Linked DNA regions of Homo sapiens: region 1 is linked to region 2. The links are contacts of gene promoters, found by promoter capture Hi-C in human tissues and cell types (Jung and others, 2019). All regions are on one chromosome and are shown on one strand. Each heading gives the region's core, a stretch centred on a gene start or on the middle of the fragment in contact. The rest is flanking DNA. Distances are from core to core; before and after follow the strand shown. Region 1 overlaps SDK2 (sidekick cell adhesion molecule 2). Region 2 holds the start of COG1 (component of oligomeric golgi complex 1).

Region 1 (4,995 bases), core at 2,328-4,827, 160 kb after region 2:
TTTTAAAGTGTGCTTAATTTGATTTCAACGCACTTGAAGAGGCTGTCCATGATACTGCAAGAACTGAAGATCAAGATTAGATGGTGTGTGCCATTGGCTCGGAATTTCTTTTCCATTGAGATTTACTTGTGTGCTAAGTATATACATTTTTTTTTTTTGTACAAAACTTGGGCTCTTCTTTTGAAAATGAAGTTGCCGTCCAGCCAGGCTGCAGTGTTAAAGTTCCATCAAACAGGCCTTTAAATCTCCAGTCTTTGTGTGCATCCTGCCCTCTGCCTGGTGCCCCCTTCTCCTGCACCCTGGGCCCTCTACGGGAGAGCCAGCCCCTCTCTCCTCTAGCCCATCACCCCCAGCTGAATTATAGCCTTTCTCACATCACATCATATGTGTTTGTTTATAAGTCAAACTGACGCTTTGTTTATTGCCATATCACAGGAAAACGACTGGGCAGATTTCTGCCAATTTTGGAGAGTGGGTTTTGGGTGGTCTGTCTCAGAATATAAACCAGGTGGCGTATGCAAAACCCACTCTCCAAAGACCTGGGGGAAGGGGTGTCCTTGAAAAGAGAGGCAGTCATTTTTCCTGGCGGCTGAAACCGAGGGGCCCTGGCCTGTGCAGCTGCTGATCCTCAGGGACGTACCCTTGCACAAACTGTCACAGGCAGGAGAACTACCAGTGGCATCCCCATCAGCCCCCACTTGAAGGTCGCAATGGTGGGGGCTCCGCATTGCAGATGCTGATTGGTAGCCGAGCTGCTTCTCACGTGGCTGAGTGGCAGCAGCACTGACTTATTTAGGAGCCTCATAAGGACCACAGTGGGGCCAGCACAGTGGTTCACACCTGTAATCCCAGCACTTTGGGAGGCTGAGGCGGGGGAACACTTGAGGTCAGGCATTTGAGACCAGCCTGGCCAACATAGTGAAACCCCATCTCTACTAAAATACAAAAATTAGTGAGGGGTGGTGGCACATGCCTGTAATCCCAGCTACTCTGGAGGCTGAGGCACGAGAATCACTTGAACCCAGGAGGCAGAGGTCTCAGTAAGTGGAGATTGCGCCACTGCACTCCAGAGCAAGACCCTGGCTTAACAACAAAAAAACTCATAACTTGGATCACGTGGGTTTTGTCCCCCACAATAAGTTCCTGGGTAAGCCATGCTAAGTTGGGGGTCTCTGTCCCTGCCAGCTTTGAGCTAGGGAGTTAGGTCCAGCCTTCTCAGCTCTGCCAAGCCCATCAGTAACCCTGGAGCTGAACAAAACAGCAGTGAGTGGGAGGCCCTCAGCCCACGGGGCCCACAGCGTGATCCCAGGCTTCCTGGCACCTCCTGCACAGCCAGCAGCCCAGCTCCCTGCTGGCACCTCTTCCTTCACTTCCTCTCCCAGGCCTGGGCAGAAAGGTCCAGGGCGTGGGATGCAGTGGCCTTTCGTGGCCCTTTCCTCAATAACCACTGGGCTTGGCTGAGGCAGAGGGTGAGGGTGGGAAGCTGTAAGGCTGCATGGTTGGAATACACACAGCCCCTTCCCCACACAGCCTGGGACAGTGTCCCCACGTGACCCACCTAATGGCCGCTCTCTGAAGCTCTGTGTCTTCCAGAGGCACCGACCCCCTCTTCATATAAAAGCTGACATTTACGGAATGGTTGCCGTGTGCCTGGCTCTACACTGAGTTCACCAGTGTCTAACTCAGCAGATCCTCCCCACAGCCTCGGACAGAGCCTAGTATCACCCCTGCCTGTTCCACAGATGGGGAAACTGAGGCTTAGAAAGGTTACTTGGCACACCCAGGACATCCCAGGTCACGAGCAGCAAAGCTAGGATTCACACTCAGGTCCAAACCTCCAAAGCTTAATGTCTCCCTGGTCTACACTGCTTCTCATCCTCAGGGCTCCAGGGCACCCAGCCCTTTGTTTCTGAAGCTGTTTTGATGCGTGAGTAGTGAAGCTGAGCATTTTTCCAGGTCTCTGGCCTGGAATGCAGGGCTGTGTGTCAACCTTCTCCCCAGAGTCTCCCTCTCCGCACCTTCAGCGTGCTCTCTTGCAGGACAGCCCTAATGAGTAACTAAGCCTGTGGGGTGACCCCTGAACGTAGAGAGGGCCGTCTTCTTCGGGGTACCCCCTATGATCAAGGTTCCCGGGACCCCATTGGCACTGGCCGCAAACTTTGAGCAGAACTTGGGAGGGGACAGATGGCCCATATATGACTTCAGGGTGGTTTCTTGGGCCCCTTAATATTTGCTGCCCCTTGAAGGAAAGGAAGAAAGCCCATCTACGTTCACTGCCCCACTCTGGGAGGCGCTGCTCCCTGCCCCCTGCAGGACACCTGGCCCTCCTGCCCTCACCTGAGAGTCGGAGATTTCTGAGGGCTTCTCCGTCAGGCTGCTGCTCTCTGCAGGGATGAGGTCGTTGTATTTGGTGACATCCTCATCCGAGTAGTGCAGGCTGCCTGGGCTGGGCCTGGGGGGAGACCTGGAGAGAGCGGGGGAGTGGGGCCGAGAGGTGCACTCACTCAGAGCGGCCTCCCCTGGCCTAGGGAGACCACAGTGGGGGCCTGGGGAACACGGATCCCTGCCACCCTGTGCTCCTCCTCCTTCCTGGGTCTGCCTTCCAGGGGCCCGGGCCTGGGAGGTAGGAATCTGGAGGAGGACAAAGAGGGAAAAATGGGGTGCCCGGCTAATGCTGTCATGGCAACATGCAGGGTGAATGTAGGGGGGATGTCACCGTGGCTGGGTTCAGGACCCCACATCCTGGGGCTGCTTTGGTGCAAACGGGATTTTTGTGTACACACAGTGGCTTTGGGGGCACACAGGGGCCTGGATGTGTGTGCACTGTGGGTAGGAGAGGCTGGGAAGGGCAGGGGAAGGTGAGGCCACGTGTGAAATGCCCCCTTGTTACATGTAGTAGGGCCCCGGAGCCAGCCTGGCGGGGCTGCTATGGCCATGCTGGGCCTGGCTGGGCCTGCTGTGGGGGCCTCAAACAGCTCTTTCTTTGGAAGGCTGGATTTGGCAGAGGATAAGAGCTCGGCTTTGGGAGCTCCTCCCTCCATCCTCTAGATGAACACACACATAGCTTCGTCCCTCTAAGACAGAGACAGAGGGAAGCTTTGTGAGCTCCTGAGAGAGGCTGGACTCCTCCTGACTGCCGCCTCCAATGAGCTGGGAATGCCAATAGGGCTGAGGCTGGAGACAGGAGCCCTCTGGCCCAGTCTTTCTTGAGCTCAGGGGAACAGAAAACCGCCACACATCAGGGGAGGGTCAGGTGGGCCCCAGCAGCTGCTCCTGCCCTTGGAAATGGGCAGCCCGATGGCCACAGGGAGTAGGGCCTAGGAGGGGGCTGGGGTTAGAAAGAAGTCAGAAGAAAATAGGAGCTGTGCTTGCACCACGAGCCTTGTCCTGTCCTCATGGGCTGCTTTCAGATGCTGCCCTTTGAGGCTGATGGGGATAGGAGGTTGTCCTTTAATAGGTATAAATAAGGACCTGGGGGAGAGGGTTTCCCAAATGGGGAGGAAGACAGGAGGGCATAGCGATAATGCGGGTGCTCAGGCGTCCTTCGCTAAGGTGTTTTTGCTCGGTCTGCGTTGGCTGGGCCTGTCTTGCCTTTGGGGCCAGTGACGATCTGCAGGGCTGTTTCCCTGGCAGTTGGCTCCGAACATCAGTAGGTTGGTTTGAAAAATTTTGCCAGTTATTTGCATTCTACTGTCACTGTCAGGAACTCTTAGTAGCTACCTCCTTGTAAATTTCTCCCCAGTGCGCCCTCACCCCCAGGCTGTGATTGGGCATGGTGGGGACTGGGACCCTAGTTGTCCTGCTTGGGCCCCACTGTGTCTTTCTGCTGATCGTTCCCAGCCCTGGGGCTTGAATGGTGTTTCCCAGGACAAGGTATGGCCAGGTGGGCACTCCCTGCTCTATGGCCTTCCCCAGCATTCTCCCCACCTGGGCACTGCTGGGCCTGGCCCCCAACCCACGCAGAGGGCCCAGTACCTGGTGTACAGGCCGTTCTTTCGGCAGAAAGAGTTCTTGACGGAGAGCCGCCTGTTGTTGAGTTCCAGGGCAGGGAAGCTGCTTTCATCCAAGCTCATCATCTCGCTGTGGCCTAGGGCTCCAGACTTGGCACTGTTCCCTGAAGTCGGCGGGAGATTGACACCCTTTAGACTGTGTGGCCTCCCCTCTCCCATACCACTCTCCACCTGGCTGGGTTATCCCCTCTTTCTCTTGGTAGAGTTGAGACCAAAATAAGAGATTGAGATTGTGTGTAGAAACCCTAGGCTGCCCCACCCACCAGAGCAGGTGCGCTGCCAGGAGCCAGGAGAGGGACCTGATCACCCCTGTTCTGGCCAAAAAGGAGATACATAAAACTCAAGTCCAGCCAGCATGGCTGGTGCCAGCTCACTCACCCGAGTCTGTCTTCTTGGCGTACTTCTTGCTCTGGCCCCGGATGATGAGCACGAAGACCAGAAGCAGGATGAAGATGAGGCCGACCAGGGCAATGACCACCAAGAACCACCACTCCTCATAGAAGGGGTTGGCTTTCTGGGCTGGAGCACAGATAGTCAGGTATATAGGGTGCTCAGCCCCCTCCTCCCTCCAAATCTCCTGCTCCAGTTGGGACCCTACTAACTGCTACAATCTATGGGAAGGCAGGGTCTGTACCCTCCGAATGAGGCAGAACCTCTGTAAGGACAGTTTCACCTCAAGTATCCGCTCTGATCAGTCGGTAAAGGGCTGCCTGGAGGGCTGATGTCAGATGAGTTCTGAGATGGCTACCTGGCTCAATAGGAAAGAGTGCTAAGATTGATTAGTGATGTCTGCCAGGGACATAGGAGGGGAGAGTGGCAGTGTGTTAGCTACTTTTTCCCCTTTTTTTTTTTTTTGAGACGGAGTTTCACTCTTATTTCCCAGGCTGGAGTGCAATGGCATGATCTTGACTCACTGCAACCTCCACTTCCCGGGTTCAAGCAATTCTCCTGCCTCAGCCTTCCAAGTAACTGGGATTACAGGTAC
Region 2 (4,925 bases), core at 577-3,076:
GATCCGCCTGCCTCGGCCTCCCAAAGTGCTGGGATTACAGGCATGAGCCACCCGGCGCGCGCCCCTTTTTTTGTATTTTTTTGTAAGGACGGGGTTTGGCCGTGTTGCCCAGGCTGGTCTTGAACTCCTGGGCTCAAGGGATCCACACGCCTTGGGCTCCCAAAGTGCTGGGATTACAGCCTGCTTCTTAATGTCACTAACTCTTCACCCAAGTCCTAGGCGCTTGTGCCTGCTGTGCCAGTCCCAGGCCGCAGGCTGGCACCGTAGCTATAAAGGGCGCCAGAAAAAAAGATTTTGCTAGATAGCGATGAATTCCCCAATCACAGAAAGGAGATACTGCGGATGCTTATCAGCCGAATACCAGTAAGTGTCCCTTGCAGAATGGGATTAGAGACTGCAAACTGCAGGCCTGCCAACAGAGGGTGCTCTGTGGGAAATTATGTGAAAACGTAGAAAAGAGCGCGAGCCAGTAATTTAAAAATCGACGTCCAAATACTCACTGGGTCACCTATCAGCTATGTAATTTGGGCAGGTAAATAAGCTTTTGTTTCTTTTTTTTTTTTCCTCATAAATGGACTAGGAATATTACTCCTACCTACCTGGCATGGCCGATGTGCGAGAAAATGAGATAATCTCGTGGACAGGCTCTGAAAACTGCACTTTTACTGAGTAAAAAACCCTTTGCCTCTCCGGGCCCCCGTTTCCCCATCTGTAAAATGAGTCTGTAAAGTGAGAATGATACTCCCTACGCCGCAAGGCTCTTGCGGGTTAAACTGGAATATTATAAATGCACCATTTATTTGCAGATTGAAATTCTGTGCGTCCGGAGGTGGCGGGTGGGAGAGGGAATGAGCAGGGATGCAGGGTAGGCCCTGAGTTGCTGGGGGCTCAGCATGGCCGCTGCGCACATTGCATCATTTTGTCGACACTGGTGTGGGTGAAATCTTCCAAAAGAAATTAAAACAGAAAAAAAAAAAAAGAAGGGTCTGGGACTTAGCAGAAACAAGCCACAATCTCCAGATTCTACTATTCCTGGGCCACGTGAGGAGCGCCCACCCGTCTGGCGCTGCGTTCCCCGGGGCGTCCCAGCCTCTCCCGCCCAGCCCGCCGCCCTCCTCCCCCATGGCCACCAAGGTCAGGCTCTCGCAGGGAAAACGTCTTCAGGGGCTAAACATCGGTTTTAAACGAAATGGAAAACCTCCAACACGAATCAACAGCAGAGGAAAAGCAGACGCCAAACAAGCGCTCAGAACCCCTTCAGGGGCGGCGTGGTAGCTCTTCCCGGGGAACAGCGAGGGGCGCGGATGTCCCTCTTCCTAAAACTGCACGCGGGGTGCGATCCGAGACCCAGCGGCGGCGAGCGCGCCCGAGTCTGCTCGCGGGCGCCAGGCGCGCGGAGAGCGGCGGCTGCGCCTGCGCCAACGCCGTCAGTCCGCGGGGCCCGATCCCGACACCTAACTCCACAGAGAAGCTCTGCTCCTAAGGGAAAGGGAAGACTTCAGCCACAGTTTCGCAGCCAACCTGGCGACCTCACCTCTCTGGCGACCTCACTTCCCAGCCGGCTCCGTTTAAGAAAACCCCGCGCAGGACCGCGCCCGCCCCCGCGCCCGCGCCCGCCCCCGCCCCCTCGCGCCCGCCCCCTCGCGCCCGCCCCCTCGCGCCCGCCCCCTCGCGCCCGCCCCCTCGCGCCCGCCCCCTCGCGCCCGCCCCCTCGCGCCCGCCCCCTCGGGTAACAAACATGGCCCCCGGCGGGGCGGAAGCGCTTCCGCCCCCAACGAAGATGGCGGAGGGGGCGGGACTAAAAGGGCGTAGGTAGATCGCCGGGGGCTGACGAGTGCACCATGGCCACCGCGGCAACCTCACCCGCGCTGAAGCGGCTGGATCTGCGCGACCCTGCGGCTCTTTTCGAGACGCATGGAGCGGAGGAGATCCGCGGGCTGGAGCGCCAGGTTCGGGCCGAGATCGAGCACAAGAAGGAGGAGCTGCGGCAGATGGTGGGCGAACGGTACCGCGACCTGATCGAGGCGGCCGACACCATCGGCCAGATGCGCCGCTGCGCCGTGGGGCTAGTGGACGCCGTGAAGGCCACCGACCAGTACTGCGCCCGCCTCCGCCAGGCCGGCTCGGCCGCGCCCCGGCCACCGCGGGCCCAGCAGGTCAGTCCCCGTGCCCCCACCCTGCGACCCGCAGGCGGGTCCCGGAGCCCCTGGCCTTGCAGGTCAACCCCGCCCCCCTCTGTCAGTCCCAGACCCCGCGAGTCCTCACCTTCCTTAGCCAGGAGCCTATCCGCCCCTCACCCTTTGGGCCCCCCTCAGAGGACAGTGCCAGCCTTCCTTGCACATATGCGGCTGCTGATCCGTTCTGGAAATGCCATTCAACAGTTTCTTCAGGCGCTTTCCCCCGACTTCCGGGCCTTGATTCCTACACCTCACTGGGCTCCTTTCAATTTTAGCGGAAAACGCCAGGAGTTTCTGTCTTGACAGTTCAACGCTCACCTATATAACATGTCCTGACATTGTTTTTCCTCAGGTTTCTCCCCTATGTTGACACCTGCACTCCAAGTCATTTCTTCCTCATCCCAACCTTCCCCTTATCTCCCCAAGAATAACTTCCACAACCCCAAATAGCTGTTCTACCCTTTGGGAGTTGTTGAGGGTACCAGCTATCAAGCCCTTAACTTTATGTATGTATGTGACAGGGTCTCCCAAAGTGCTGGGATTACAGTCATGAGCCACCACAGCCGGCCAAGCCCTTACCTTTTAATAGCTGAACATTTTCATTTTCAGAACTAAGGCTTTTTTCATTCAGGTTCTCCTTATCCCGTGTTCTTCCCCCCAAACGCTATTGATTAGACACAATGAGGAAGGATGGGAGGTAAACAAACACATCCTCATATTGGAGCTGCAGCTTGCGTTCCTAAAGAATTTTTATTGGCCGGGTGCGGTGGCTCACGCCTGTAATCCCAGCACTTTGGGAGGCCGAGGCGGGTGGATCACGAGGTCAGGAGATCCAGACCATCCTGGCTAACACGGTGAAACCCCGTCTCTACTAAAAATACACAAAATTAGCCAGGCGTGGTGGCCGGCGCCTGTAGTCCCAGCTACCTGGGAGGCTGAGGCAGGAGAATGGCATGAACCCGGGAGGCGGAGCTTGCAGTGAGCCGAGATCGCGCCACTGCACTCCAGCCTGGGCCACAGAGCGAGACTCTGTCTCAAAAAAAAAAAAAAAAAGAATTTTTATTTCTTTATTTTTTGAGACAGGATCTCGCTCTGTCACCCAGGCTGGAGTGCAGTGGCGCGATCTCGGCTCACTGCAACCTCCGCCTCCCGGGTTCAAGCGATTCTCCTGCCTCAGCCACCCGCGTAGCTGGGATTACAGGCACCTGCCACCATGTCCGACTAATTTTTGTACTTTCAGTAGAGACGGGGTTTCACCATATTGGCCCGGCTGGTCTCCAACCCCTGACCTCATGTGATCTGCCTGCCTTGGCCTCCCAAAGTGATGGGATTACAGGCGCGAGAGCCACCGCGCACGGCCCCTTAAAGAATATAGACCTAGCAATGAACGAAGTGAAAGGGCATGAAGGGTGAAAAAGGTAAACAGTTAGTTGTTTTTAACAGCCTGGGAGAACTTACTGGGACATAGAAGAAAAAATTGAAAAGTACAGTCTAACTCCAATTTGGAACTTGTTCATGCTATCTGAGCTTTACAGAAATCCTGGTCAGTAGACTGGACTGACACAATAAAACTATAGGAAGTTGCAAATAAGTTTGCATATTTTTGAAATGAGTGACCTCATCCCTCCCAAAGCTAACATTTAGTACACGTGTCCCCTTAGGTGGCCAGCCTTTGCTGTAACTGAGTCATGCTTCAGGGTTTATTAAAACGCTAACTTGAATTATGCCTGATTTTAGAAACGTATTGATTTTCATAGTTGTTATATCTGGTTTATTCTCGGTTAACCCTACAAAAATTTGAGTGTCTTCTTCGTTCACATTACAAAGAAACAGAAGTCCCCCAATTCCTGCTCTGAAGGAGCTTACAACCTGGTCGAGGAAATAAATCCATGGAAACTTGACGAGAAAAAAATGTAAAAAAATTTAGAATAACAGGTCAGGCGCTGTGGCTCATGCCAGCACTTTGGGAGGCCAAGGCAGGTGGATTGCTTGATCACAGGAGTTTGAAACCAACCTGGGCAACACGGTGAAACACCATCTCTACAAAAAATACCAAAAAGTGAGCGGGCATGGTGGCACATGCCTGTGGTCCCAGCTACTTGGAAGGCTGAAGTGGGAAGATCTCTTGAGCCCAAGAGGTCAAGGCTGCAGTGAGCCATGATCGCACCACTGCACCCCAGCCTGGGCAACAAAGTGAGATGCTGTCCCAAAAAAAAAAAAAAAAAAGGCTGGGCGCGGTGGCTCAGGCCTGTTATCCCAGCACTTTGGGAGGCTGAGGCGGTGGATCACTTGAGGTCAGGAGTTTGAGACCAGCCTGGCCAACATGGTAAAACCCTGTCTCTACTGAAAATACAAAAATTAGCCAGGCGTGGCGACACGCACCTGCGATCCCAGCTACTCAGGAGGCTGAGGCAGGAGAATCACTGGAACCCGGGATGTTTGATTCCCAAAATAATTGTGTATATTTACCCTAGGAGTTCTGAAGGAAGTCAGTTTAGGCTTGGGTTGTTCTTAGTAAGGAGGGACCTTAAGGGCATGATGAGATTTGGAATTTAGGTTTCTTAGTCCATTTGTGCTGCCATAACAAAATACCTGAGATTGGGCAATTTATAACACAAGTGTATTTTTCACAGTTGTGGGTCTGGGAAGTCCAAGATTAAGGCACTGGCCTTTGATGTCTGGTGAGGGCCTTCTTGCTGTATCCTCACGTGGGGGAAGGTAGAAGAACCTAAAAGTTGCCTCCAGCCC

The links. Contacts are between HindIII fragments. The study calls those that stand out against the background at their distance.
Region 1: a fragment that was not itself captured here is called in contact with the fragment with the promoter of COG1 in region 2 in 2 of the 25 tissues and cell types used here (aorta and hippocampus).

Annotation. Positions count from the first base shown.
Region 1 is chr17:73,346,262-73,351,256 of GRCh38, forward strand. It overlaps SDK2 (sidekick cell adhesion molecule 2), which reads right to left. Exons shown (of 45, transcript NM_001144952.2): 42 at 4,389-4,529; 43 at 3,976-4,114; 44 at 2,338-2,464. Among named protein-coding and RNA genes, the nearest start is that of CDC42EP4, 37 kb to the left of the region's middle. RefSeq lists an enhancer at 1,061-1,910. The HindIII fragment of the contact is 5,768 bases long and covers 694-4,995 here.
Region 2 is chr17:73,191,229-73,196,153 of GRCh38, forward strand. It overlaps COG1 (component of oligomeric golgi complex 1), which reads left to right and starts at 1,827. Exons shown (of 14, transcript NM_018714.3): 1 at 1,827-2,156. The coding sequence starts at 1,842. RefSeq lists enhancers at 1,054-1,813, 1,099-1,148, 1,779-2,058 and a silencer at 2,109-2,318. The HindIII fragment of the contact is 14,916 bases long and covers 1-4,925 here.